7 separate regions of the Homo sapiens genome follow, and regions 2, 3, 4, 5, 6 and 7 are each linked to region 1. Evidence: promoter capture Hi-C in 16 types of primary human blood cells and fetal thymus (Javierre and others, 2016). All regions are on one chromosome and are shown on one strand. The core of a region is centred on a gene start or on the middle of the fragment in contact, and the rest is flanking DNA. Distances in the headings are between cores, read along the strand shown.

Evidence for each region. The method cuts DNA at HindIII sites, captures the fragments that hold promoters and counts their contacts. A CHiCAGO score of 5 or more calls a contact.
Region 2: a fragment that was not itself captured here is called in contact with the fragment with the promoter of AKIRIN2 in region 1 in 1 of 17 cell types (non-activated CD4 T cells); the score reaches 5.5 in non-activated CD4 T cells.
Region 3: a contact is called between a fragment that was not itself captured here and the fragment with the promoter of AKIRIN2 in region 1, in 2 of 17 cell types (total CD8 T cells and naive CD4 T cells). The highest score is 5.8, in total CD8 T cells.
Region 4: a fragment that was not itself captured here is called in contact with the fragment with the promoter of AKIRIN2 in region 1 in 1 of 17 cell types (M1 macrophages); the score reaches 5.1 in M1 macrophages.
Region 5: a contact is called between a fragment that was not itself captured here and the fragment with the promoter of AKIRIN2 in region 1, in 1 of 17 cell types (monocytes). The highest score is 5.3, in monocytes.
Region 6: a fragment that was not itself captured here is called in contact with the fragment with the promoter of AKIRIN2 in region 1 in 2 of 17 cell types (megakaryocytes and erythroblasts); the score reaches 6.7 in megakaryocytes.
Region 7: a contact is called between a fragment that was not itself captured here and the fragment with the promoter of AKIRIN2 in region 1, in 2 of 17 cell types (erythroblasts and total CD4 T cells). The highest score is 6.9, in erythroblasts.

The regions. Positions count from the first base shown.
Region 1 is chr6:87,700,481-87,704,742 of GRCh38, reverse strand. AKIRIN2 (akirin 2) reads left to right here and starts at 2,510. Exons shown (of 5, transcript NM_018064.4): 1 at 2,510-3,293. The coding sequence starts at 3,059. RefSeq lists enhancers at 1,939-2,248, 2,559-2,618 and silencers at 2,779-2,948, 3,129-3,338. The HindIII fragment of the contact is 11,354 bases long and covers 1-4,262 here.
Region 2 is chr6:89,357,937-89,362,198 of GRCh38, reverse strand. No RefSeq gene overlaps it. Among named protein-coding and RNA genes, the nearest start is that of UBE2J1, 7.3 kb to the right of the region's middle. The HindIII fragment of the contact is 6,763 bases long and covers 1-4,262 here.
Region 3 is chr6:88,963,838-88,968,099 of GRCh38, reverse strand. No RefSeq gene overlaps it. Among named protein-coding and RNA genes, the nearest start is that of RNGTT, 2.4 kb to the right of the region's middle. RefSeq lists a silencer at 4,185-4,262. The HindIII fragment of the contact is 1,429 bases long and covers 1,659-3,087 here.
Region 4 is chr6:88,933,621-88,937,882 of GRCh38, reverse strand. The region is part of intron 2 of RNGTT (RNA guanylyltransferase and 5'-phosphatase); the gene reads left to right. Among named protein-coding and RNA genes, the nearest start is that of RNGTT, 28 kb to the left of the region's middle. The HindIII fragment of the contact is 1,557 bases long and covers 1,409-2,965 here.
Region 5 is chr6:88,916,990-88,921,251 of GRCh38, reverse strand. All of the region lies in intron 4 of RNGTT (RNA guanylyltransferase and 5'-phosphatase), which reads left to right. Among named protein-coding and RNA genes, the nearest start is that of RNGTT, 44 kb to the left of the region's middle. The HindIII fragment of the contact is 615 bases long and covers 2,088-2,702 here.
Region 6 is chr6:88,893,021-88,897,282 of GRCh38, reverse strand. All of the region lies in intron 6 of RNGTT (RNA guanylyltransferase and 5'-phosphatase), which reads left to right. Among named protein-coding and RNA genes, the nearest start is that of RNGTT, 68 kb to the left of the region's middle. The HindIII fragment of the contact is 1,581 bases long and covers 1,560-3,140 here.
Region 7 is chr6:88,872,066-88,876,327 of GRCh38, reverse strand. The region is part of intron 8 of RNGTT (RNA guanylyltransferase and 5'-phosphatase); the gene reads left to right. Among named protein-coding and RNA genes, the nearest start is that of RNGTT, 89 kb to the left of the region's middle. The HindIII fragment of the contact is 1,147 bases long and covers 1,259-2,405 here.

The DNA of each region.
Region 1 (4,262 bases), core at 1,261-3,760:
CCTTTTTTTCTTTTCTTTTTTTTTTTTTTTTTTTTGAGACAGGGTCTGGCTATGACACCCTGGCCGGAGTGTGGTGGTGTGATTACAGCTTACTGCAGCCTCAACCTTCTGGGCTCATGCAATCCTCTCACCTCAGCTGCCCCGAGTAGCTGGGACCACAGGTGACCACCACCATGCCTAGTTAATTTTTTAAAAATTTTTGTAGAGATGAGGTTTCTTATCATTGCCCAGGCTAGCCTCAAACTCCTGGCCTCAAGTGATCCTCCCACCTCGGCCTTCCAAAGTGCTGGGATTACAGGTGTGAGCCACCGCACCTGGCCCAAATTTCCTTTTTTGTATAAGAATACCAGTCATATTGGATTAGGGGCCCATCCTACTACATTTAGCTAATTACATTTGAAATAATCCTATTCCTAAGTAAAGTCATATTCTAAGGTACTGGAGGTTAGGACTTCATATGAATTTTGAAGTCCTTGAATTCCCTCAAACATAGGGAATTTAACTCACAACATCACATTTCAAATGTAGGTTTTATAACTTATGGGCAAATCTTAATTTCAGAAAATATTACCAAGTGTTTAGAATTTACTAGAAATTTACCTAGTAGGTGTCTTAGTTAAGCTGCTGTTTCATTAAATGCTTATCTTTTTCAAAAGATTTTCCAAATGTAGGAAATGTAGGATATTTCCAAATATCCTAAATTAAAACTAGAAGGGCTTACTTGTTGACACAGTGTGATCAGGACTGCTGATCTCTGAAGCACTGGACAATTCTATAAAATTGTCTATAAAAAAGAATATATTGAACTACTTCTAAATATGGTTTAAAAATAATAGACAAAATGGCTATAAAACATCTGTTACTGAATAAAGAAGAATACATGAGCACTGGAAATCAGTATTTATAATCATTTGACAGTTGGCATTCACAAAATTGTTTCATATTGCACTGGTGATAGTTTCTACATATATCACTTTTTTTTTTTTTTTTTTTTTTTGAGACGAAGTCTAGCTCTGTCACCCAGGCTGGAGTGCAGTAGCTTGATCTTGGCTCACTGCAACCTCCGCCTCCCGGGTTCAAGCGATTCTTCTGCCTCAGCCTCCTGAGTAGCTGGGACTATAGGTGTGCGCCACCACGCCCGGCTAATTTTTTTTATTTTTAGTAGAGACAGGGTATCACCATGTTGAACAGGCTGGTCTCGAACTCCTGACCTCGTGATCCGCCTGCCTCGGCCTCCCAGTGCTGGGATTACAGGCGTTAGCCACCGCGCCCGGCATCATTTTCTTTTCTTTTCATTTTTTTCAGACAGAGACTCGCTCTATCACCCAGGCTGGAGTGCAGTGGCAACATCTCGGCTCACTGCAACCTTCGCCTCCCGGGTTCAAATGATTCTCCTGTCTTAGCCTCCCGAGTAGCTGCGACTACAGGCGCGCGCCACCACGCTCGGCTAATTTTGTATTTTTAGTAGAGACGGGGTTTCACCATTTTGACCAGGCTGGTCTCGAACTCCTGACCTCAGGAAGATCCGCCTGCCTCGGCCTCCCAAAGTGCTGGGATAACAGGCGTGAGTCACCATGCCCGGCTACACAGATCACTTTCTAAATTAGCGCTGTATTTGATTCTTATTTTAGGTATGTGACTAAAAGTACAACTTCTAGAAACACTTTTTTCCCCTTCCGCTTACAAAATGGATCCATCCAATATCTATTACCTAAACATTTCACTGTCTTTTGATTAGTTTTGTAACAAAGTTCACAATATATGCACCAATATTCAACAGAAGTAATGCAATGTCTGATACCACTTGCTTTTTACCCAACGCAAAACAATTTGATTCTGTAAGTCGTTCAAGTCCTATTCATTTACAGAAGCAAAGCTGGCTTTACAGAATTTCATTAGTGGATGAAGCAGCTACCTCCGAAGGGTAGAGCATCGAGTTGAATCAAGGATCCTGTAACCTGATACTATTACTGTTGTTCTGTCTGCCAGTCCTAAATAGGTTTCATAATCTCATTATCTCCTATCCTCTCCATGTGAAAGGTCTTGTTTTGGGTACTGTCGCTACCGAAATTAAGCTAACTTTGACTAGAGATTGGTTTATTATATTTCCCAGATCTGAAATCACTGTGGGAGCAACTATACGGAGAATCTTAAAAGATTTCTATGTCGCTTAGCCTGCTTTTGCCACGGGTTCGCTTTCCCATCTCCCACTGTCTCAGAACCTTCTCTTTTTTTCTCTTTTGCTTAGTTCCTCTTACACTCAAGCTGTGTAGGGGGATTTAAATTCCAACCCGGAACTCGGAATCGCGCGCCTTGCATGACGGAAGTCGTAGTTTCTGTGACTCCTCCCTTCCCGCCTTTCAAGCCGATTCCTCCCGGTACCTAAAAACTACAACTCCCAAAATGCATCCCCGGTTTGGCCCGCCCCCGTGCGCAAGCGCTCTGAGGCCGCCGGATTTGAATCGGCGGCGTTGTTATTGACGCCATATTGGGGCCGGCGGCGGGTGGGAGAGTTCTACGAGGGAGGGGAAGCGGTTGGACGTGTTCGCTTGGGTTCCTGCTGCGGCAGCTACCTCGCAATCTCTCTGCATCGATCGCCGCTCGCAAGCTACTGACCGTACTCGGGCGTATTAGGAGCCGCGTTCCAGCCTCACACCCCACGGTGCTGTTTTCGACTTCAGAAAGGATCTAGTCTCAGCACAGAAGCGCCTCAGGCGCGGCGCAAAGCTCGAGCGGACGGCGGGGGCGGCCGGAGCCTCTCTCGGGGGAGCCGCGCCTGAGGAGGCGGAAGAACCCCCCTGACGCGACTGGCGTGTGCTTCTGCCCGCCACCGCCCCTCCCGCTCTCACCCGGGCCGTCCCTGGCCACTGCCCCTGCCGCGGAGGCAGCGGCGGCAGCGGCTCTCCTTTCCACAGCCGGCGCTCCGCGACCCGCTTGGCTCCTGAGCCCGTCGGGTAGGCTCTCCTCGAGTTCCCGCTCTTCACCCCTTCCCTCACCCTCTTCTTTCGTCACCCGTCCCCGACCCCACCCGAGCCCGGCGCCTCAGCTGCCCCCGGCCATGGCGTGCGGAGCCACTCTGAAAAGGACTCTGGATTTCGACCCGCTGTTGAGCCCGGCGTCCCCGAAGCGCAGGCGATGTGCGCCATTGTCGGCGCCCACCTCGGCCGCTGCCTCCCCGTTGTCGGCGGCCGCGGCCACCGCCGCCTCCTTCTCCGCTGCGGCCGCCTCGCCGCAGAAGTATCTCCGAATGGAGCCATCCCCCTTCGGCGACGTCTCCTCCCGCCTCACCACAGGTGGGACCCGGCCCCGCGGCCGCCGGGGTAGTGGAGAGAACTGGGAACAGGGGTCCTGGGGTGTGGGATGCGGCCCCTGGGGTGGGGGTGCCGGACTGTGTGGTTCTTGTTCTTAGCAAAGTAGTAGGGCAGCCACGTTTTTCACTAGGTCCTCGTAGCCCGAGGACCTAATAAGACACAATAGAAATGGGCTGATGTCAAGGGGATAGTGTTTGGAGGTGGGTAGGGGCTTTGCCTTGCCCGTATTGGGTAGAACAGGGACATCTTTTTCTTTGGGCCGAATGATTGGAATTGTTTCCGTAGTCGCTGGAGCCCCAGCGGAAATGATCAGAGAGGACGATATTATTCGTAAATTTAGGCGAAAGGGTCACATTTCACCCCAATCTGGATGTGTGCTTGCCGTAATCGATTGGTTGCAGCTATTAACTCTGGGACTGGGTGGTTTGAGGCGAGGCTACAGCCCCTCCTTCAGTTCAGACACGGCTGATTTTAGTATAGTGGGGGTGGGGGGTGGGGGATGGATGTCACTAGGGCGAGATCTAGGCCTGTCATTAATCACCCACAAGAACGCCACTTTGGCTGAGTCAAGACCTGTTTCCCTAGCAGGGTCAACAACAAAGAAAATGCTCTTCCCGAGTACTGTAATATGATCACACTATAAGTCTAGACCTTGAGAAATGTTGAACTTTTAATAAGCATATTGCATTGAAAATTGGGGCTGAGGAGTTGCTTTTATTTGGAAATGTTTTATTTTTGCCCAACAAAGTATGCTGGGGGAAAACAACCTAGCCTTGAGAATAATGAAGAAATCAACCCAAGATTCCAAGGGACTTCAGACTTTTGCTTTTCATCTTGAAACATTTCCTGAGAGAGACTGGGGAATGTCTTTTGGCTGCTTTGTAGGGCATGTGTATGCCCAGTTTTTTCTGTACTTTGAAATCCTTGTGTGCCCCTGGCACAATCCTAGGA
Region 2 (4,262 bases), core at 1,670-4,169, 1.7 Mb before region 1:
GACCATGGATAATAACTAGCATCCAAGAAATTGAGTTGTTCAACCAATAGATCAATAGCTATATTTACTATTAATTTAATGTAAGACTAAATAGAAGAAGTAGGCTGTAAATTCGAAATGTTTATTGACATGTAGTGCTTTTCCTTGTAATTAAGAGGTGAATTATCTTAAAAGTAGGAAGTTTTAAATGTTATTTTAATATTCATACTTTTCCAGCTTAATACATGTATGACATCAATATCACTTCCAGAATTGGATTTAATAAAAAGTTTATTTGGCCGGGCGCGGTGGCTCACATCTGTAATCCCAGCACTTTGGGAGGCTGAGGTGGGCGGACCATGAGGTCAGGAGTTCAAGACCATCCTGGCCAACATAGTGAAACCCTGTCTCTACTAAAAATACACAAAATTAGCCCAGTGTGGTGGTGTGCGCCTGTAATCCCAGCTACTCAGGAGGGTGAGGCGGGAGAATCGTGTGAGCCCAGGAGGCAGAGGTTGCAGTGAGCCAATATCGCACCATTGCACTCCAGCCCAGGCGACAGTGCGAGACTCCATCTCAACAAACAAACAAACAAAAGTTTATTTTACTTTTCTACCCTTTTCAATCTGTTCGTACCAGGGAACTATTTATAAGAGTGTCGCCTAAGAATGTTTATATTCTCTTAACATGTCATCAGGAACAGTAGAATATGTGAGAAAAATCTGATGGTAAATGCAAAACTCTTTCACATCATTCAGAATTTTGAAAGGCTGGGTGATTTTAAAATGTGTCATACTTGTCCTAGAGGTCCTCAAAAGACCTACTTTTATCATAAATTACAGTTAAGTTCAGGCAGTGATCTTATTTCAGTTGTATCATCAGTATTTTGCAATAGTCCTGGGAAAGTGAAAATATAAGCTCTAGTAGTCTCGTTCATGATTTTAAGATACCAATTTGAAGTATCATATTATTCCAAGAAACAACTTAATTCCAGGATTTAAAAAAAAATCCAAAACAATATTGTTAGAACAGTGCAACAAATATTTACAAGTCAATAGTCTTTTCTTTGTAGAATATTACATTTATGGTTTCAATAAATGATTTAGCAGTTAAAGCTGAGATGAAGTGTGGTTCTCATATTCAATCTTGAAAAACTAAACCATCTTTAAAAAGTAGAACGTCCATGTGAACTCATGCCTGAAGCCATGTTTGAACGCTAGATAAAATTGCCCTGGGACAGAACTGTAGTTCACCTTTATGAAATCAATTTTAAACTTGTTATTGTGAGCCACAATAAATACAGTTCACATTGCAAACTATCACACACTCATACAAATGTTACTAAAAAAAACTTACCAAGTTATATCCTCTCTACATGCAATGCATTCTGGTATTTTCTCTTTCATTTGCTTTTTTTAAAAAGATCTCACAATCCACTAATGAGTCACAACCTGTGGTTTGTAAAGTAGTGTTAGAATGAACCCATTGGCCACATCAGAAATATCTAAGGATTTTCTTTCCAACCTAAAATCTTTTCCTTCTCTGTTAATTAAGAGATCTTAACAAATGGGAAATTCTGAGTAAGTTCCTGAATTTTTCTTTCATTTGATCATGGCCTTCTAGTGTTTACTAAAGTGGTTTTTCTTTTCACTGCCATCCTTGGGTATTTTTGTATGCTGGGTTGTATTACGGGTGAAGGGTTGATGGGGTTGTAGGCCTGAGAGGATCATTTTTATTACAGACTCTATCCTTGACTATAATATGATAGCGTTACATGGAGTTTAGTGACTCATGAGCTCATGTCTGACTCCTAAGGGGTCCTTTGTTAATTCAGATGACATTGGTCTTATCCGTTATCAAGAATCCATGAGTTTGGCTGGGTGTGGTGGTTCATGCCTGTAATCCTAGCACTTTGGGAGGCCGAGGCGGGTGGATCACAAAGTCAGGAGTTCAAGACCAGCCTGACCAACATGGTGAAACCCCGTCTCTACTAAAAATACAAAAATTAGCCAGGAGTGGTGGCACGCACCTATAATCCCAGCTACTCAGGAGGTTGAGGCAGGAGATTCGCTTGAACCCGGGAAGCAGAGGTTGCAGTGAGCCGAGATCGCGCCACTGGGCGCCAGCCTGGGCAACAGAGCGAGACTCCGTCTCAAAAAAAAAAAAAAAAAAAAAAAGAATCCATGAGTTTGCCCTTTTGTGCTATTTTGAAAGGGAGCTGATCCAGTGACTACACTCAGGAGGGTGGGGGCATTAACTGGTGTCCAGCTGCCTGAGACCTTGACCATCTTGCTTCCTCAATCTTTCCTAATAAGCTCCTGGGGCCAGCAGGGTTATTCTATTCTTCCAAAATTGAGAGTCATGAAACCAATCCCCCTCTCATGAAAGGCCAACTATGATAGAGCAATTTAAACCTCAGTCCCATGCTAACCCTCATCACCACGTGGAGAATTCCATTCCTACAAGCTGCTTTTGTTTGCCTTCTGCTTTCATTATTGCCTAAGTCCCTAAGAGGGCTGCTACTCAGTTTTCTCCCCTCTGGCTTTGCAGAGAGCTAAGCCCCATAGTACTCAACTTTCCTCACCTAGATAGCCAATAACTTGGAACTAATTCTGGCCTTCTCCCAGACTGCTTATAAGGTGGCCTTGGTAATTAGGCTTTTGTTTCTTTTCCCTGGGAAGCAGTGCAGTAAAGGGGGTGACTGCGGGAGACAGTCCTATGTATCTTTCCATCTCCGTAGGAGAGGAAGGAATTCACTTAGCTTTATAAGGTGCAAGAAACGGTGCCACCAATACACATAGTACTGTTTCATTTAATGCTCTAGGCCCATATTTTCCAAAGTTACCTGATTTTATGAATCATCTAGAGTGCTTAAGGATGCAGATTCCCAGCCCCATCCCGGTCTTCTTGAATCAGAATCTCCAGGGAGAAATACAGAAATCTGTATTTTTAAATAAGGACCCTAAACAATTCTTATAATTTGTGAGACACTGTTTTCTCTGTAGTTGTTTAAAGGGATAGGGAGGGGAAATGGTAGGGGATTAGGGTTGCAATCACCTAGGGGAGCTTTCTTGCATCCTCCATACCTACATACACATCAACACCCCAAGTGTTAGCATTTTTTCCAACTTGATTATGCAGCTTTAAGAGTTTATATTATTTAACCTATATTTCAAATGTAGACTTTTGTGAATGTAAATAATTTTAAGTCTATTTAAACCATTTATTGATTCAGTATTTAAATACTCATTTACATCTAATAGCACAAATTATGCAAATGGTACTAATTTAGAAAAATTGGTTTTTCCTCAAACAATTTTATTCAAATACTTCACATGCATCGTTTACAACTGGGTCTCTATCATCACTGAAACAACATTGTGAGTCCTCTAACAGTTCCCTCCTAGTTATCTAAGGTAGAGCATGCCTTACATTGAGTAGAATGCTGTCAGTGGAGATTTTACTACATCTCGAGAACCACTTGTTAAACATCAGGGTTTTTTTCCTACATATTCATAATCACCATAAATAAGTACTTCTTGTATTTCTCTGTTCAATAATTATTTAAAAGCCTACTTAATGATCTCCAATACTTGTTATCCAAAGTCATACCCTCAGGAATAATTAATCAATATGTCTTTGCCTTTTTTCCCCTGATTTTGCTAGGTGACCTTTATAAGACAGAAAATTGCCATTACTTGTGACCCTTTCACGACATATTGTCTTCCTGAAGAGTATTTTGTTCAAAAAGGACAAAGACAAAAACACAAGGTGACTCTCTTTTCTGAGGAATGATATTTTTGGAAAAATTTTGCTTTCCATTCTGCATATATGGTATATATTACTATTTAATAGCATCTGTACCCACCCCCTTTTTTTGCATAGAGACAGGGTCTCACCATGTTAGCCAGGCTGGTCTTGAATTTCTGGCCTCAAGCGATCCTCCCCTCCACCTCCACCTCCCAAAGTTTTAGGATTACAGGTATGAGCCATCGCGCCCAGCCAGCATCTGTACCTAGACCCAACTTGAATTCCCCAAAGAAGTTAAACTGGCTCCAGTATTTTCTCACAAGATGCTAGAAGGCAAATTGTGGCATACCTATACCTTCTGGTTGGTTAGTGCTGAAAAAAGTACAGGACTACTTTTGAGAAGTTGACGATGTGGTTATCATTCAAAGTTTGCCTATAATTGTAACTTGGGTTTTAATGGGAAGCAGTGTAGTACTGATTGTTCTGAAGACAATAATATTGTCGAAATGCCCCATGGCTGCAGAATTACTGTA
Region 3 (4,262 bases), core at 1,124-3,623, 1.3 Mb before region 1:
GAAATAGAATTCCAGATTTCCATAAATTATTTATTTTGCCAAAATTACTCAGAAATTTTAAAGAAGCAAAAACTTTTTATAACCCTTTACAAATTTTGCTAAAGTGCAGATTAGTGCCTTAAGAAAACTTTGTTGTGCTTTTATTTCAATGCTCAATTTACTTTTGAATTTAGCCAATGTTCACACACAGCATTTCTTTTGCAAGATTAATTTTAACCTTCCAGAACTTGTTTAAACCTTTAGCTTTATCTTACCTAATTTAAAACAATTCCCTAACCCTAGGCAAAAATTTACATTTCCATGCCTTCCATTACCTTTTACTAAAAAACACATTTTACTGTTCTTACACACCTTGCATGTAAATCTATTTTCAGTAGTTTCAATTATACATTATAATGGTAACTCCTAGCAATTTTAACTTTAATGTAAAACCTGGTAAGTTGTTTTAATTGTGTGCCAGGTGCAGCGAAGTTTTGACTCCTTCTAGCATAATTAATGACATGGTTAGTTCCATATGTCCCCAGGCCTTATCAATTGTGAAGCCAGCAAGTCAGATAGTTCTCAAAACTCAAAAAGCAGTTTATAACATTAAAACATTTAGCAAGACTAGTACCTAACCTGCATAATTTAGTCCACCTATTTACATTTTGATGACATCTGTTTTTTACCAATAATCTTTAAGGCTGTTTTTATTTCTCAAAGATTAAAGTCACATGAACTGAAAGGTACCACATCTTTTACCTTCCCTTTAAAAAATATATGATCTAAGCACTTGTCTTCCTTTAGGCCAATTAGAGTTTTTTTTTTTTTTTTTTTTTTTTTTTGAGACAGAGTCTTGTTCTGTTGGCCAGGCTGGAGTGCAGTGGTACAATCTCAGCTCAATGCAACCTCTGCCTCCTGGGTTCAAGGGATTCTCCTGCCTCAGCCTCCCAAATAGCTGGGACTACAGGCACGTCACCACACCTGGCTAATTTTTGTATTTTTAGTAGAGACAGGGTTTCACCATGTTGGCCAAGCTGGTCTCAATCTCTTGACTCTCAAATGATCTGCCTGCCTTGGCCTCCCAAAGTGCTGGGATTACAGGCATGAGCCACCACACCTGGCCTTAGAGCTCCTTTTTTTTTTTTTTTTTTGAGATGGAGTTTTGCTCCTGCTGCCCACGCTGGAGTGCAATCTCCACCTCCCAGGTTTAAGTGATTCTCCTGCCTCAGCCTCCCAAGTAGCTGGGATTACAGGCATGTGCCACCATGCCTGGCTAATTCTGTATTTTTAGTAGAGATGGGGTTTCTCCAAGTTGGTCAGGCTGGTCTTGAACTCTCGACCTCAGGTGATCTGCCTGACTCAGCCTCCCAATGTGCTGGGATTACAGGTGTGAGCCACCGTGCCTGGCCTTTGAGCTCTTTTCATAGACATCATGTACACAACATATATATAGCTACACAGACAGGCAGAAGAAAACCAGTCCCCATAAGATCCTTTTTCACAACCAAACTTTAAGGAGAATATAAACAGGGATCCTTATCATTCCTAGCCTAGTGAAAAAGAAAAAAAACATCTGGTTTAAAAGTTAACTGTTGATGGGGTGAAGAAAAAAGGATGCCTGGGGGAATAAACCTTTTATTCTTAGGCAAATGGTTCCTCTACCAGGGAGAGAAGCTTATCAGATGGAGTTGAGCCTTGGCCAGGGAAGGGGAAGATGCTGTGGACATGTGGCATTCCCCAGCCCCAGCTGGGAGGGGAGAGGGAATGAGGAGCTGCGACTTGCCTATCCTTCCCAAAAAACGAAGGCAAAGGCCATGGAAAGGCCCCTGACCCCAGGGAGCGATGGGAGTGGGGGCATGGTTTCCCTACCCTCAGAAGTCCACGCATGAAAAGGCTTAGAAATGACAGTGAAAAGTTTTGAGTCCCCGTGTCACTCAACCGCTTCTCAAGCCCCACATTGGGTGCCAAAGCTGTTGTACGACTTTCTCCTTAGTTCAGCTAAGAGCTGGGTCCTGGTCACATGGCCATGAAATATTAGGCTCACAGATGCCTTGAAGGGTGAGAATGGAATTTATTGGGCAAAAAGAAAAAAAGGGAAACAGAGACTCTCCCCAAAGCCAGAGTGCTTCCTGCCTGGTAGACTGAATCCCAGGTTCCACCTAGGAAAAGGAGGGGCCAGGCTCCTCCCCACTGCAAATGGCGCAAATTTCCCAAGGCTCCACCACAGGGTGCATTCCTCCCAGTGCTCAGGTCAAAAGGAGATTCTGCCAAGGAATCCTTCCCACCTGGCTGTCTTACCAGCACTTTGGGAGGCTGAGGTGGGAGGGCTGCTTGCAGGAGTTCCAGACGAAAAAAGTATAAAAAAGTTAGTGGGGTGTGGGGGCCTGCACCTGTAGTCCCAGCTCCTTGGGGGCTGAGGTGAGAGGATTGCTTGAGCTTGGGAGGTTGAGGCTCCAGTAAGGCTGCCCTGATCATGCCCACTGCACTCTAGCCTGGGTGAGAAAGTGAGACCCTGTCTGCAAAAACAAAAGATTTATCTACATATCAAAGTGAAGAGGAAGGATTAATAAATATAGGTTTTTCTCAAGGAAAAGTCCTAGGAAAAGGGAAGACAGATAAGATCTCTCTCTTTTGCCAAAAGAGAACGTTCAATCTTATTTTTTACATGTACACACTCTTCCTTATGGGCAAAATGGATGTTTGATGAAAGACTCACCAATGAAGAGAATCTACATCTGATAAAGAGGAGATCAAGACATATCTGGGAGGGTGTCAGGGGTTCCAGGAAGCGGGGGAGGAATCATGTTGGTCTGTCTGTGAGCATCTATTTTTCTTCTCACAGAGTAGTAGAAACTTGGGACTAGGAGCAATATAGGCAGAAACACACATCAGGCAAGGCATTCCTGACAGGCAGAGAGAAACTGCCTGCTCATCGGGATGCCACTCTCCTACTCTACTCTCTATTGTGGACAAAAGGTAGCCACAGGGTCCTCCCAATTCTGTGGCAATGAGTATGGAGAGGGCATAACTGGATAGCAGAATAAAAATCCAGTGCACATTGCTGCCTTACAGCCAATAACAGTTGCTCGCCAGTGGTATGAAGCTTCTGTGTGCCTAGGACTGAGCTACTGGGTATAGCGTGTGTGGGAAGGGGAGTCACCAAGGGGAGTCATCCCCAGAAGGGGAAGGTAAGATACTCTTCCAGGATCAGGCTCACCTTTCCCATCCTTGGAGGGGGTCTGGGGATGGAAGGTTTTTACCACTTTGGGCATGGTACACACTCTATCAGCAGAAAAGGGAATTCATCGGAGATTATTTGGGTAGACTGATGGCCTTAAAGGAAACTGGGTATTATCTTGTTCTGTCAGGGGAGGAGTTTACACCTTCACTAACAGTTCTGAGCAGATGCAACAGCAGGACAGACCAGAAGTGTGACCTAACTCAGGCTGCCTCAGAGAGATTGCTGTTGGACTGCCTCTATTGATGGGACTCTTACTGAGGGGGTCCAGGCATTCAGGGGGTTGAGCGTCCCAGAAAGTTCCCCACCGACGCTTTAAAAATGTATTCCCTGCAGCCTTACGTTCTTGCAGTTCCAATATAGCATTGGTGTTTAAAGCCAAACTACATTATAATTGATTCGCCATCATCCAGCTTTATATTTAACACTTTAATCTGGTAACAAAGGAAAGGCTCGTTAAAGGACGGCATTTATAAAAATTTTTCAAGCACCTCTGCTTAACTCGAAGGGAAAATAAAAGGCACTGTTTATTTGGTAGGCCAAGGAGAACAACGCCACGAAGAGGTTCTCCACTGATCAATTCCTACCTTTGTCAATTATACCACATTAATTAGTAACTTTTTTTGGAGACATGGACCCTCTCAAACTCCCCAGTATGCTTTGAAACTTTGATCCAGAAATGTACAAACAAAACTCTAAGTGTTCTGGAATTAATTTCAGAAGCTTCATAGATCCTCGTAAGTACTCACCAAAAGAAAAATTCCCCATTTCTGGTACTCCAATCTCATGTCCTTAGAATTCTCCTAAGACTTGTTCCCTTGAACAACTTTCCCTAATTGCAAATCAAACCTAGATCCGGCTGGGACGCCAAGCTTGAGCTGTGGTAACGCTCAGAAGGCCTCTTTTCATCAGTAAAATAGATGCCTTAACGGAAGTGGCGGGCAATCTACGCATGGAAAGGCGCTTGGCTTCCCTCTTTTTTGGGTTTCTCTAGGTTGTCTGGATGGGAAAAAAATACACGCTTCGTCCTGCGGAGTTCGGT
Region 4 (4,262 bases), core at 938-3,437, 1.2 Mb before region 1:
TGGTAGAAAAGCTAGAAGTCAATAATAAGGGACTTTGGAAATTGTACAAATACATGGAAATTAAACATGCTCCTGAATGACCATTTGGTCAAGGAAGAAATTAAGGTGGAAATAAACCTCTTGAAACACATGAAAATTGAAACACAACATACCAAAACCTAAGAAGTACAGCAAAGCAGTGCTAAGAAGGAAGTTTATAGCAATAATTGCCTACATCAAAAATGTAGAAGGATTCAGATAAATAATGATGCACCACAAGGAACTAGAAAGGCAAGAACAAACCAAAAATTTGTAGAAGGAAAGAAATAATAAAGATCAGAGCAGAACTAAACAAAATAGACACTAAAAAAAAAAATACAAAGAATCAACAAAATGAAAAGTTGGTTTTTTTGAAAGGATAAACCAAATCAATAAATCCATTGCTAGACCAACCAAGAAAAACAAGACCCAAGTAAACTAAATCAGAAATGAGAAAGAGAATATTACAGTTGATACCACAGAAATACAAAAGATCATCAGAGACTATTTTTTTTTTTTGAGATGGAGTTTTGCTCTTGTTGCCTAGGCTGGAGTGCAATGGTGGGATCTCAGTTCACTGTGACCTCCACTCCCAGGTTCAAGTGATTCTTCTACTTCAGCCTCCTGAGTAGCTGGGATTACAGGCATGTGCCACTGCGCCTGGCTAATTTTTTGTATTTTTTAGTTGAGATGGGGTTTCTTCATGGTGGTCAGACTGGTCTCGGAACTCCTGACCTCACGTGATCTGCCCGCTTCGGCCTCTTAAAGTGTTGGGATTACAGGCGTGAGCCACCGTGCCTGGCCCATCAAAGACTATTATGAACAAGTATACACTAACTGGAAAACCTGGCAGAGGTGGATAAGTTCCTAGATATATGCAACCTACCAAGATTGAATCAGGAAGAAATAGAAAAGCTGAGCAGACCAATAACAGGTAGGGAGATTTAATCAGTAATGAAACATTTCCCAACAAAAAGTCTAGGACCGGATGCCTTCACCACCAAATTCTACCAAACTTTTAAGGAAGAACTAACACCAATCCTCAAATAATCCTGAAAAGATTGAAGAGGAGGGAATTCTAACTCATTCTGTAAAGCTAGCATTATGTTTATACCAAAACCACAACAAAAAGAGAAAACAGGCCAGTATCTCTGATGCAATGATGGTTCAGCATATGCAAATCAATAAATATGATACATTACATCAATAGAATGAAGGACAAACACCATGTGATCATCTCAATAGAGTCAGACAAAGCATTTGATAAGAATCAACATCCCTTCATGATAAAAACTCTCAACAAACTAGGCATAGAGGAAACATAACTCAACATAATAAAGACCATATATGACAAGCCCACAGCTAACGTCATACTAATTGGGGAAAAGCTTTCAGCTTTTGCCCTGAGAATTAGAACAAGACAAGGATGTCCACTTATTCATCATGGTATTGGAAGTACTATCTAGAGCAGCCAGGCAAGAGAAAGAAATAAAAGGCACCCAAATTGGAAAAAAAGTCAAACTGTCCCTCATTGCTGATGATATAATCTTAAATCTAGAAAAACTTAATGATTCCACCAGAAAACTCTGAGATCTGATGAGAAATTCAGTAAAGGATACAGAATCAACATACAGGCTGGACAGTGGGTCACACCTTTGACCCCAAAGTGCTTTGGGAGGCTAAGGTGGGAGGTTTGCTTTAGGCTAAGAGTTCAAGAACAGACTGGACCCCAAAGTGAGACCCCCATCTCTACAAAATATTTTTTAAAAATGTAAAAGTTATCCAGGCACAATGGTGTGTTCTTCTAGTTCCACCTACACAGGAGGCTGAAGTGGGAGGATCACTTGAGCCCAGGTGTTCCAGGCAGTGGTGAGCCATGATTGAGCCACTGCACTTCAACCTGGGCAAAAGAATGAGACCCTGTCTTTGAAAGAAATACACAAAAAAAGAAATCAACATACAAAAATCAGTAGTGTTTCTGTATGCTGATACTGAACTAGCTGAGAAAGAAATCAAGAAGGCAATCCCATTTATAATAGCTACAAAAATAGTAAAATACTCAGGAATAAATTTAACCAAGGAAGTGAAAGATCTCTGCAAGGAAAACTAGAACAGTGATGAAGGAAATTGAATGGAACACAAACAAATAGAAAGACCTCCATGCCCATGGATTGGAATAATTAATATTGTTAAAATGACCATACTTTCCAAAGCAATCTGCATATTCAGTGCAATCCCTATAAAATACCAATGACATTTTTTATAGAAATAGAAAAAACTCCTAACTTTTTAATTTTATTAAAAAAAACTTTTTTTAAAGATGGGGTTTCACTGTGTTGCCTAGGCTGGTCTTGAACTCCTGAGCTCAAGCAGTTCTCCCACCTTGGCCTCCCAATGTGCTAGGATTACATGCATGAGACACTGCACCCCACCTGAATCCTAACATTTTTATGGAACCTGAAATGAGCCTGAATAACCAAAGCAATCTTGAGCAAAAGGAACAAAGCTGTGGGCATCACACTACTTTACAGTGTATTACAAGGCTATAGTAACCAAAACAGCATGGCATTGGTGTAAAAACAGACTAATGGAACAGAATAGAGAATCCAGAAATAAATGCATGCATTTACAGCCAACTGATTTAGACAAAGGCACCAAGAACATACATTGGGGACAGGACACTCTTTAATAAATGGTGCTGGGAAAATTGGATATCCATATACAGAAGAATAAAACTGGACCTTTATCTCTCACCATATACAAAATCAAATCAAGATGGATTAAAGACTTTAAATGTAAGACCTGAAAGCAGAAAACAGTAGTTTTGAGATGAAAACATAGGGAAAACACCGTGGGACATTGGTTCAGTAACAATTTTATGGCTAAGACCTCAAAAACACAACTCAAACAACAATAGACAAATGGGATGATATGAAACTGGAAAGCTTCTGGACTGGGTACAGTGGCTTACACCTGTAATCCCAGCACTTTGGGAGGCCAAGGTGGGAGGATTGCTTGAGGCCAGGAATTGGAGAACAGCCTGTGCAACAGAGTGAGACCTTATTTCTTGGTGGCACATACCTGTGGTCCCAGCTACTTGGGAGGCTGAGGCAGGATGACTGCTTGAGCCCAGTAGGTCAAGGCTGCAGTGATTCATATTCACACCACTGTACTCCAGCCTGGGCAACGAGTGAGACTCTGTTTCAAAAAATAAAATAAAAAAGCTTCTGCACAGCAAAGGAAACAACAGAGTGAAATAACAACCTACTGAATAGGAGAATATATTTGCAAACTATTCTTCTGAGGGATTAGTATCCAGAATATACAAAGAACTGGAAACAACAGGAAAAAAATCCCATTAAAAAGTGGGCAAAGATGTGAATAGACATTTCTCAAAAGAGGACATACAAATGGCCAACAGATATATGAAAAAATGCTGAAAAAAAGCTCAACATTACTAATCATCAGGAAGATGCAAATCCAAACCACAATGAAATATCATCTTGCACCAGTTAGAATGGCTATTTATGACTAGGTACAGTGGCTCATGTCTGTAATCCTAGCACTTTGGGAAGCTGAGATGGATGGGAGGATTACTTGAGGCCAGGAGTTTGAGACCAGCCTTGATAACATAACGAGACACCATCTTTAAAAAAATTCAAAAAATTAGCCAGGCATGAGGTATGTGCCTGCCATCTTACCTACTCAGGAGACTGAGGTGGAGGGATCCCTTAACCCCAGAAGATTGAAGTTACAGTGGTGAGCTATGATTGTGCTACTGCACTCCAGCCTGGGTGGCAGAGCAAAACCCTGTCTCTCTCTCAAAAAAACAAAACAAAACTATTATAAAGACAAAAACCAACAGATGCTGGCAAGGATGTGGAGAAAAGAGAACTCATATGCTGTTGGTTGGAACGTAAATTAGTACAGCCACCATGGAAAACAGTATGGAAATTTCTCAGAAAACTAAAAGTAGAACTGCTATACGATCTAGCAGTTTCACTACTGAGTATTTATCCAAAGGAACAGAAATAATTTTATCAAAGGGTGGATGAATGGATAAAGAAAATGTGGCATATATACACAATGGAATACTATGCAGCCATGAAGAAAAAATGAAATCATCATTTTGCAGCACATGGGTGGAACTTGAGTTTATTATGTTAACCAAAATAAGCCAGACACAGAAAGACAAATTCCACAGTTTCACTCCTGTGGGAGCCAAAAAAGTTGATTTCATATCT
Region 5 (4,262 bases), core at 1,146-3,645, 1.2 Mb before region 1:
AACCTGAGTCTAACCTTTGCCACATCACAAATGTTTACTACTGGTCACAAATATTGATCAGCAAGAGTTTGTGCAAGGCTGATAAAAATTCCTTCTCTGAAACTAAAAATAAATGAAAGTACTATAAAAGCAGGACAGTATTTTCAGATCCTAAGACTACTTAAGCTTGATTCTTTAGTGCTTTTTATTTAGAAAGGTGTTATCAGCAATCAGTTCTGAGACTAGTTTCTGTTATTGTCTCTACAGTAATACTATAAGAAATAACTGGCAATACATCCTGTGCTCCAAAATTTGGCAGGCCCAAAGCAAATGTTTCCAATTCAATCCACATGAACAGAATCACTGCCGGGAATATAAAACAAAATATATATATATCACTAGGTTCTATAAATTTTATAACCTGTAAACACTCAAAACAATTAGAAGTTTTTCTTATCAGTTCTTCTAAGAATACAACTGCACAATTTATAACAAGGATGAATTTGTTTTCCTAAACCTGGAGTATGAATCTTTCTAAAATCATGACATCTAATGCCAGAGGTTAAAATTGCTTGACTGCCCTCCTTTGAATTCATTAAGCATATTTAATGTTTACCCCTATAATGGCTTCTCTCAAATGAGAAAACACTTCTGTGAGTTGTTTTTACTTATTCAGATAAAGGCCTCAGTATTACCTTAAGCTGTGTAGGTTCTAGTCATATACCTCAATATATGTGTATGTATGTGTGACTGTTATATATATTCATATAAATGTATGAATATATATACACACATCCTTAACATATTTCATGTATATCTCATAATATTGTTCTGTTAAATAATAGCTGCATACTGTACCATATAAATAACCTGCTTTTTTCAAAACAACAAATACAGTATAGTAACTGTTCACATAGCACTTACATTGCATTAGGTATTATAAGTAATACCTAGAGGTGATTCAAAGAAAACGGCAGGATGTTCATAGGTCATATGCAAATACTATGCCATTTTATACAAGGCACTTGAGCACTGAGCATCGGAGGATTTTGGTATCTGAGGGGGATCCCAGAACCAATCCCCTGAGGAGTCTGAGGAACAACTGCATTAATTTTTTTTGCCTTTATTGTATTATATTAAATAATTTTTTAGAGACCAGGTCTGGCTATGTTGTTCAGGCTGGACTTCAACTTCATCCCACAAATTGTAACAATTAAAATTGTCTCTAGACATTACAAAATGTCCCCTGGGGGGCAAAATCTTCCCCAGTTGAGAACTACTGAATCCTCGGTGCAGTGGCTCACGCCTGTAATCCCAACACTTTGGGAGGCCGAGGCGGGTGGATCACCTGAGGTCAGAGTTTGAGACCAGCCTGACCACCATGGTGAAACCCTGTCTCTACTAAAAATACAAAATTAGCCAGGCGTGGTGGCGCATGCCTGTAATCCCAGGTACTCAGGAGGCTGAGGTAGAGGTTGTAGTGAGCCGAGATTGCTCCATTGCACTCCAGCCTGGGCAAAAAGAACAAAACTCCGTCTCAAAAAAAAAAAAAAAAAAAAAAAAAAGAACTACTGACCTAATTAGACTGATCAAATAATTAGGATTTTTAGCATTAAAAAATTTATCTAGCTAGTGAGATAGAAATAAAATTGTGGGCCAGGTGTGGTGGCTCATGCCTACAATCCCAGAAGACCAAGGCCAAGGATCTCTTGAGCCCAGGAGTTCAAGACCAGCCTTGGCAACATAGAGAGACCCTGTCTATACCCCCCACACCCTCCAAAATAGTGTATGTTGAGATCAGGCTTTATTTAAAAAGATACATTGTCACCAGCCCCTTTATAAACTGCCCCAACATGTATAGCTATAGCTAATCTCTCTGTCTATTTGTTGGGGAGTTTCTTTCCCTAGTTTGATTGTAAATGCCATATACATTTATTTCATTATATTAGCTTGCCTGGAAAAATTTGAATAGAAGTTGCCTTGAAATAGTTAATTGTGAGCTAATATTTAGTTAAAAACTGTGGCTTACTTACCACTAGATGGACCCATTCTCATGATGAAGAAAACTGAAAATTGCTTTAAACAAAAACTGAAGACGTATCTAAGCTTGTAGTATACCTAATTAATGGATTTTTTAATATCAAATACATAATCTCCCACATTTTTCTATAGTGGTTTGTTTTGATGGTTTTGTAACTTTATAACCCTATCTATAAATGTTTTGATGTATAACTGAACCATTAGACTAAGACTTTTTGTATTTGCATATAAAGAATATTAAAAGGAAAATGGTACTTTCCTAGATTACATATCTTCACATGACATATTAGCTAATTGGCAATTATTATTACATTTCCTATTCATAAAAATATTTAATCTTGCAAGAGTAAAAATTGGATACAAAAACAGTAGCTTAGGTGAGAAACATCGAAAGTTGAAATATTTGTTGCTTGAATTGGTCTGAAATAGAAGATAGTAAGGAAATTTACATGTTGGGTTAAGATACATGAATACAAAAATGTGTTTATAGTGCACATCTTTGTGTGGCTTTTTTGAAGCACTTTTTCTTACAAAGCAATGGAGATAATGGAATTTATAGATTTTCTTGGTCATAGCTATTTATTTCTAAGTGATGTCTTCAGTTCAAGGCTGATCTCTTTGTTTTTTATTTTCTTCTTTCAGAAACTTAATTTCACTTATATCGTTTCTATTATTGTCAAGCTTTGTGGTTTAACTAGGTTCTTGTCCTGAGCCTGTAAACATACCTAAACTTGTTAAATAATCCCCTCCCGCTGAAAAAAACCCCGTACCCTTCTTTCTGTTTTGCATTCCCTCTTCCCTTTCTCAGCTGACTTTTTAAAAGAATCTATACTTGAATCCATTTTTTCCTATCCACTTTGTTGCAGTCTGGAGTCCTCCCTCAGCACTGTTTTTTGTTTGTTTGCTTTTTAAGACTGTGTCTCACTCAGTCATCCAGGCTGGAGTGCAGTGGTGCAATCATAGCTCACTGCATCCTCGACCTCCTGGTCTCGAGCAATCTTCCCACCTCAACCTCCCGAGTAGCTGGTACTACAGGCACTTGCCACCATGCCTGGCTATTTTTTAAATTTTATTTTTTGTAGAGACAGGGTCATACTGTGTTGTCCAGGCTGGTCTTGAACTCCTGGCCTCAAGTGATATTCCCGCCTCGGCCTCCTAAAGTGCAGGGATTACAGGCATGAGCCACTGCACCTGGCTAGCACTCTTAATCAAATAGTGATTTTCCATTCTAATCATTATGTGACATCTAAGCACTCATAACTTAGAAAATTTCCTTTACTTGGCATACATGACCCTGTGTTTTTGTTCTTTGAAGCCCATCATGGTTCATTCTCAGTCTTTTTTTTGAGATGGTGTCTCGCTCTGTCGCCCAGGCTAGAGTGCAGTGGCATGATCTCAGCTCACTGCAATCTCTGCCTCCTGGGCTCACGCGATTCTCCTGCCGCAGCCTCCCGAGTAGCTGGGATTACAGGCAACCGCCACCAACCCCAGTTAATTTTTCTATTTTTAGTAGAGATGAGGTTTCTCCATGTTGGCCAGGCTGATTTTGAACTCCTGGCCTCAAGTGATCCGCCACCCTCAGCCTCCCAAAGTGCTGGGGTGGGGATTACAGGCCAGAGCTATAATCAGCCGTGGGAGTGGTTTTTCTAAACTCTGATAATTTTATTGCCATGCTTAAAATTCTTTACTATATCTCCATTGCCTTTATAATCTTTAGTATGTTTCACAGGTTTTTTTAGGATTTTGACCCTTTCATTTTCTCCAACTGCATTTGGCATTTCTTACCACAGCTCATATTCTAGCCATTCTGATTTATTTATAGTTTGCCATATGTGCTTTTTTGATTAATATATTTACATTTGCACAGATTGTTCCTACTGTCTGCAGTTCCATTGTATAAATATCCTTTTTTATTGAGAGTTGTTCAATGACTAAGGTTTTTATTCTAAATATTAATGGTCATTTTATTATACCAGGAATGTAGAAATTGGTGATTTGGCTCAATTGATAGTTGTTTTCAAAAAAATTTTAAAAGTAGCATGTTTTGTGGTGGGCAGGCCTATGCAAACCTATTCTCAAAGTCCAAGGAAGCAAAGAAACCAAAGAAAGAGACTGACAAATCCGGTTTCTTAGAAAGATATATTTAATAGGGACTTAAAAAGAAACCAGTCCTGCTTGTCAGGTGGCAGTGAGATAAGATGGTGGATCCCCACCATTACTCCCAAGGCCAGGGCTTATAAACC
Region 6 (4,262 bases), core at 1,101-3,600, 1.2 Mb before region 1:
GTAGGTTGACTCAAGGCTGGAGAAATTCAGTTTGGGTGTGATGAAGAACAAGAGGGTAAGGGGCACTGAGGCTGTCAGAGGAAAAATAATTGAAGTAATCAGCCATAGGTTCTAGGCTGAATAGGAAGTAAGGTCAGGATGAGGGTGCTGTTAGAATATGTAAAGGAGAAATGAAGGGACTGTTAGTCTTGGTGAAATTGAAAAGTGAGCAGAGTGACAGTAAAAGAGTTTATAGTGACATGTTAGTTTTAGAATGCTGTCGGCACTCAATCAATGTGAGTTGTATTGAATCAAAAGGTAGAGTGGTTTGAAATGATTGTGGTAGTGCCATGGAGCAGGATGTTCCAGTTGGACAAAGATGAGGGTCATTGTAAATGAGATGACCTATTGTAAAGGTTGTACAACAGGTCGAGTTATTTCAATGGATGTTGATGTTACCAATATAATGATAGAGGTTAGAATAGTCAGAAAGACCAACTTTTTTTGATGAATGTAGGGCAATATCTTTCAATACACAAAGGATAGAGGGTTTTACTAGTTTAGACTCTCTGACTGTAAACAGCAGAAAATAACTTAAACTGGCTTAAATATTAAGGGTACTTATTCATGAGTAAATTAGTGGAACTCAGGCACTGGAATGTGCCAGATTTTAGGACAATATTGGAACCTGGACCTGGAAAGTTACTTAGAACCTAGTTTCTGCTCTTTCTTCTTAATATCGCATCTCTGCTTTTGTCCCTTTATTTGTATCAGTCTTCTCATTGTCTCTGTCTCTCAAGATTGGCTCTTCCTGATTCCTGATTTTCCTGGGAGATCATTAACTGTCTCGAAGCTTCTAAGGTAACCTGTTATAATTTTAGCCACATGCAGAGACTAACTGCTTGTCTCGGAATCCCAATTCCAAATTACCAGGAGAGAGAATCTGATGGCTTCAGATTGAGTTAGGGGTTATTCGTGCTCCCATCAACTTTGGCTGGAGTAGGATGTTATCTTGTAATGTCATGTAAAATAGCTATTAGGCCCCATCTTTGTGGGTTGGGAGGGCAGCCCTTAAAGAGAGTTGTTATGCCAGTACCCACAGTGGATTTCTGCTTTACTACAGCTGAGTGGTATAGCTGAAAGGAATTAGTGTAAACACAAGAGGGCCTTTTGAAAGAGATTAGGAAAGCAGTGAGGAGGTATAGAACAGTAGTTTAAATTACTGCCATGGATCTTGGGCTGTGGGAGAATAAGTAGCTTTAAGATGACATGATCTGTCTAGGGAGAGCTAGCTTTTAGTTGAGACACGGTACGGGGTGTTCAAGAAAATGGTTGAGGTGATGGGGAAGGTTATTTATGAAAAAGGAATTCCAGGGTTTACATTGGAACTCTTTGGGAAGGTGATTATTGATAAGATGAACCAAGGAAAAGGGGCTTTAAAGCAGTGAGTACAAAACCATCAGAGAAGAAAGGGGACTGAAGAGTTGAATTGTGGATGGTGTCAACTGTAGTTGACCTATGGTTGACAGGGATGAGAAGCACAGATATAATTACTTATTACATTTATGGTTGGAAAAGCTTTCATTTTTCTTTTATTTCCATCTGAGGTTGAAGATAGTTAACAGAGGCAATCTAAGAGTGACTATTTTATAGATCACATCTCTTGACATAATGAAGGTATTTTTGGTTTGAGACTTTATTTTTGTTAAGTACAGTCTTTTCTGATTCTTATATTGATATAACTATGTATTCAAGTAATGGACTCCTTGTAATTAATTCTGATAGTTCTCTTTGGGTTTATAACTGTGGCACATGTCCGATGCTGTGCTTGGCCCCTTACATTCCTAAGACACCTTCTTTATTCATCTTTTGAGTACATGTGTTACTAAGTTGGAAGAGTATGACTTACAGGTATGTTGCTTACTCCTTGAACTGATGTCTGAGATCATTTCTTTGAATACAACGATGAATGTATTTTCCTCATTATGAAAATATGCCTGTTGTACGTATATTCTTGTATACATTTTCTCTTTACACACACACACACACACACACACACACACACACACACACAGAGCTCTCTCTCACATAAATTGCCTCCATCTTCTGTAATATTTACTAAATTTCTGTCTAAAGGATCACTCATTTCTGTTGTGATAGCCATGCAGATTTTAATTTTAAGGCTAGCTGACTCTGTTTATGAAATATATTTCTATAAACATACTTTTTTAACTTTCGATTTTTCTTTATTTTCACAAACAGAAATAATTTGTTGAAAAGTGAAAATAAATGTCAGTGACTTTAATACTCAATTATAGTATGTTCACAATAATTCCAGACCGAAGACATTGCTATTTAAAATTTATTTTTAAAATTAATTATTTATTTTTTATTTTTATAAATAGAGATGGGTCTCACTGTGTTGCCCAAGCTGGTCTTGAACTCTGGGGCTCAAGCAGTCCTCCTGACTCAGCCTCCCAAAGTGCCGGGATTACTGGCATGAGTCACCACATCTGGCCACTGTTTAGAATTAGTGATCTTTCCATTATAAAGATTTAACTATTTTATGCTGAAGTGGCCATATTTTCAAGGAGTGAAACCATCTCATACATAACAATGAAGGTAGTCAGCTGTAGACTTGGAATGAGATCACATATGGGGATGATATCCTTCTAGTTAGCCTAGTACTGCTGTACTGGTCTGTGTGTACATGCGGTCCTTCAACTCAGGCCTTGCAAGGCATGCCGGCTGTGCCATGTTTGTAAATGGGGCAGAGGAAGCTACAACAATGGAAAACTAAGCTGTTTATGTTAGGTACAGCTATTAAAACAAGGTAGGGATGAGGCTAGGCCCTTAACTTCCCTAAGGCATACTTTTCTAGCTACCTTCTGCCCTGTGTCTGGCACCTACATCCTGGATGATTGTTCTCTTTTATCCATTGTGGATTTTTAAAATAAAATAAATATGAAAAGCATCTTGATCTCTTGTTTGTGAGAGGTGATGCCCTGAGATTTAGCTTCAGGAATATGTCATGGCTCATGCTTCCCATATTTCCCAGGGAGGGAAATACAGGATTTTCTAACACTGGTTAAAAATGCAAATTCAAGATTTGGAAGGGCTGATATAATGAAATAATGAGCAGTATCAGCACGTGCAAAGCTTGTTTAAAAGATTTTATTTTCTCCCCTCTTAGACCTTTTGCACATTTAGAATCTTGAAACAGTTTCTAGATCTCTAACATGAAAATGAAGATGGGTATTTTCAGGTTGCTTTCAGCTCTAGGTAGAAATAACCAGAATTGGCTTACATTAAAGAAACTGCATCTAGAAATAAATAAAAAAATTAGTGGTCTTTCTTGGAGTTATATAATTTTGAATAATATAAAAATGGTATTTTGTCAGAACTATTGTAGTAACATTAAATAGCAAATTATGTTAGCCTAAAGTTACCAAGGATGATTTGTGTATGAAGTGTATCATACTTTTTTTTATTGGACTTCTACCTTTCTTTTTACTTATTTGTTGTGGAAGAAAATAGAGGAAGTTAAAAAAGAAGTTGATGCATGGTAGGAAAGATTAAGGAAGAAGAACAATAAATGGATGACAGACATTTACTAGGTGATTGGGGTTAACTTTTATAACCAGACTCAGTAGTTGTTAGATCTGTACTGATGCTCAGTATTTATTGGCTCTGTTAAATTAAAAATATTCAGCTTTTTCAACCCCATAGAAATGTTATTAAAATATTTCTGTGGTAATATTGTGGGAAAGTGCTTGGTTGAATGTGATCATATTTTCTATGTGTTAGTCCTTTTTATTATATGTTAAAAATATAAATAGTGTTTGTGTTTTTAGTAGTAACTTAGGTTAATTTGGCCTTTGCTTTTATTTTGCCCATTTCAGAAGTTAATGTAAATTTCTTAACTTTGCATAGGAAATCCACGTTGATAAATGAAGCTAGAGACTTTCTTTGTGTAAAACTTAAAAAGAACATCTCATGCTGTTAATACCATCAGAATTAGGATGCTTAATATTGAACTCTCTAAAAAGAAGTGTTCTTTTTTAATTAGCATAAGAAACAATTTTTTAAGGATATTGAAATTATCTGAGCACTCAATAAGTAAATATGTTACAAACCTCATCTATCTGGTTGAGCTTTCTTTTAAAAATACTCTTTTTTTCCTTTAGCTGTTGTACTTAATGATAAAAATGGTTTTAAACAGAAATGCCATTGGCTAGTACAGAGAAATAATGGTATAATAGTAGAGGGATGGTACTCTTTGA
Region 7 (4,262 bases), core at 583-3,082, 1.2 Mb before region 1:
CAAACTCCTGGGCTAAAGTGATCTGCCTGCCTTGGCCTCCCAAAGTGTTGGGATTACAGGCCTGAGCCACAATACTCAGGCATGATTATTTTTGTATGCTGCTTTTTATCTTAACATGAGTATATTTCATTGTTATAACATGTATTTTTAAAATGACTTAATTGCTGCCAAGAAAAAATAGTTCACCCTCGATTATAGGGGCATTTAGACTCCAGTTTTTTTGTTGCTATAAATAACTGTACTGATCTTCTTATACCCATCTTTGCATAAATTTTGACAAAAATAGTATTACTTAGATATAGTATGGAAACCTTTGAAGTCCTTGATATACCTTGCTAGAGGTTGTAGTGATACACTCCGAACAGCAGTGCTTGAGTGTACATCCTTGGCAATTTGGGGTAGTTTCACTTAATATAAGTAATGTAGCCAAGTTGACAATTGGAAAATGAATTTTTTTCTTAAAAGATTTTATTGATGTAAAAATTAAAGGAAAATGAATTTTAAAATTGCTTTGATTAGCAGTTTTTTTTGAATACTAGTGTGGTTGCACAAGTTCATTCTGTATTTTGGCTATAGCAACAGTTATAACAAGTAATACTTGTTGAACACTTAATGTGTATTAGGCATTGTTCTGAGTACTTTACATAGAACATTTATCTCATTTAATACTCACAACGCTGTAAGATAGCATTGTGAATAAGTAGCTTTTTCAAGGTCACAGACACAGTTATTGTAAGTAGCAGGACTGAGATTTGAATGCAAGTGATCTGGCCCCAGAGCCCAGAATCCTTTTTGCCAGGTCATGTCCTCATTATTTTTTCAATATTTTGATAGTTATTTTTACTGTTTTATGCTAATAGATGAATTTTTCTGTCTTAAAATATATTTTTTCTGATAATGTCTTCTGTCTTCCTCATAAAACATTAAAAAGAAATTAAAAAGTTCTCCCTGTGAGAACTTTTATCCCACCCCTTGGGATAATCAATATTAAGAGTTGGATGTTTGGTTTCTCGAGACATTATACCTTCATCTTCTTACCTGCTGTTTTCTTTCCTTACTTTCTGATCCTCCATATAATGGGATATGATATAGGCTGTTCTCTTATAAATAAATAATAGAAAAACTCTATTATTTTTTTTTCAAATTGCTTTGTGATGGTAATTCAAATTGCATTGCTCCTTTCACTTAATGGGATAATAAATATATTTGCAGACAATATTTACTGCTTTAATAGATAACTGTTAAGCTACTGTAAGCTTTAGAAGGTCTCAAAGACAATACAAGACACTAGAGGAAAGTAAAAGTACAATTCCTACTCTCAGCAGGAAAATGAAGTACAATTTAAGATGTAGTAAGAGATATAACAAAACTATGTATAGTACCAGACAACTAAGTAAGAGATACTAAAGAGCTAATAAAGAGCATTACTTGATACTGTATATGAAATATGACTGCTTGTTTTGATTTTAAGAGTGTGATATTGGGTGTTCATAGATGGATTTTTAAATTTTATATAGGAAATAAGTAAGATATATTTAGTATTGAATATTGATATTTAGTATTGAGTAGTGCTGCTGACCAGATGGAAGAACATTTGCTTTGACCCATCTCAGCAGTAGAGCTTATCTGTTAGATGAGGTGTTAACTGGATTTTCATATTTTTTTTTTTTACGATTCTGTGATACTTTCTTAACTCATTATTTGCTCACATACTCTTATTCATTATGTGTGATTATGGAAGTGGCAAATGCTGGCTTGGATAAAAAAGGGGAAAAAACTTTATCCTCTTTGTGAATCTGTGAAAAATTGTTTGAAATAATTATAGTTGATTTTTCTAGAATGCATGCTTTATACAAAAGAAAACTGAAAGTAATCAGCGAGTCAGGGACAAATGTAAAATAAAACTTTTGGGAAAATTCTTTTGATCTTTTCTTTTCATGAAGATGGATTACTTTATAAAAATTAAAATGTTGTTTACATGCCTCTGTGATAGGTAGTGCTGCCCAGAATACGTTAAGTGGCTTTTAAATTTTATTCCATATCAAGGTAAATCTTTAGAGCAATAAATGTGGCATACCCTGATGGAAGATCACTTAAAAGAATGCTGTATTTTACATATTTAACTTGTATTGCTACAGAGTTCTGAAAAGCATAACCTGTTACATAAATGGTAATTAATGCAAATGAGTATATCATTTGATTTTACACTTTGAAGTCTAATGAAGACACTGTACATTCTCATTATGAGAGCTACTTAATCTGAAAGTAACTAATTAAAATAACCAAGAGAGGCTTCTTATATACAGAACTGGTTGATTCATGAGATTTATTTACTAGTATTGGAACCAATTACCTGATCTGTGCTACGAATAATAAGTTTGCAGTGTCCTGTTATTTTGCAAGCTTTTCAAATTCTCTTAATTAGGTCAAGATCAATGAGTATGTCTATATCTTACTAAACCTATCTTATTATTAATGGTAGTAGTTGAAACTTTTTCTAACTTGGACTTGATAAGCATTTTAGTAAAAATTTCTTTTTTGCCTTGTGATTCTGGTCTTATAATGAAAAAATGATAATGTCTTAAAAATGTGTTTCCCCATTATAAAAGTCATTTGTATTCATTGTAGAAAAGTTAGAAAATGAAGATAAGGAACAGGACAAACACGAAAAACATATGTAATTTCACCAGTTAGAGATGGTTGCTGCTTACATTTTGGTGTGTATGCTTTTAGACTTTTCCCTCTGTCTATATATATTTTTTGTTTCATTGACTAAATGAAAAACATATTCATTCCACAATTTTTTAAGTGTCTGTTATGTGCCAAGTACCAGGTTCTCTTATTTTCTTCCTTTCTTTTTGTTGAATTACTTATTCTGGTAATTATGCTTTTGTCAATAGTACATACATTCTTGTTCTCTGCCTGTACCTTTTCATGACAAATTGTTCTTGGTTTATGGTTGTGATAGCTTCTTGAATCTCTATGAGAATACTAGTTAAAAGCATATTTAAAGTTATCTTTCTCTTCCTTGAATCATCTTTCTTCTTTATGTTTCTAGTTTCTTCAAATGTGTGGTGATCCTTGGTTGGCTGTGCATTTGAAACGAGGCAGAGAAGCTGCTTGGAAGCTCCATGAATGTGGGCTGGGTTTGTCAATTTCTGACCTTTGCTTTATGATAAGCAGTTGTGCTTAGGTGCTCTTCCCTCACTACCCATTTGGTTCAGTTTCTTTTACTTTCTTTCTTTTTTTTTTCTGTTCACCCTCCCACCCTGTTTCAGTTTCTTTAGAGAAGAGCTCTCTGATTTTTCTTTTCTTTTGCTTGAGGAATAACCTGTGTGTTGTGTGTATGAGTTGTGAGAATTTAATTGTTGTACATAGCTAAAAATAACCAATCCCTCCTTTTCAGTCCATATGTCACTGTAGTCATCCTGTGCACTTGATGTTTCTGGGTCTGGATCTTCTTTGGGGTTTTGTAAAATAGGCACCTCCATCTGTGAATCCTGCTACCTCTGTGCATGCTTCTCAGCACTTTTCAGTACTTCTCCGTCTATTTCTTGTCAACCAGAAATTTATTGAAATAGTGCATCTGCTGATGCTCTTTTCTCCTTCCCTTCATTATCTTCATTGTTATAGCCATTTCTAATAAATTACCCTAAAATTACCCCAAAATATAACAGTTTAAAATTCAAATATTTACTGTCTCATCGTTTCTTGGGAGCAGTGTGGTTGGGTGAGTCTTTTTTGTTTTTCTTAAATCCATAGCCTCAAGCATTTATCCCTTGTTACAAGCAATCCAATGATACTCTAAGTTATTTTGGAAAGTACAGTTAAGTTATTGTTGACTATAGTCACCCTATTGTGCTATCAAATAGTAGGTCTTATTCATTTATTCTTTTTTTTTGTACCTATTAAGCTGGGTGATTATGGTTCAATGTCGTCTATCAGATTGCAGTCAAGCTGTTGGCCAGGGCTGTTGTCATTTCAAGGGTCCACTTCCAAGCTCATGTGTATGGTTGATGGCAGGCCTCAGTTCCTCAGCTGGCTGTTGGCATGAGACCTCCATTTCTTACCAGTGGGGAGGAAAAACTTTCCTGTACCCACTTAGGTTCAATAGTTAGGGGCCTACAAATTAAACTGACAAAACATAGATTAGCAAGAGAAAAAACAAAGTTTATATGTGTATGGAAGCACATAAAAGAAGTGGCTTACAAGATGGTTGAAGTTAGTATTCCTAACTTAATGGGACTATGCCTAAAGTTTGT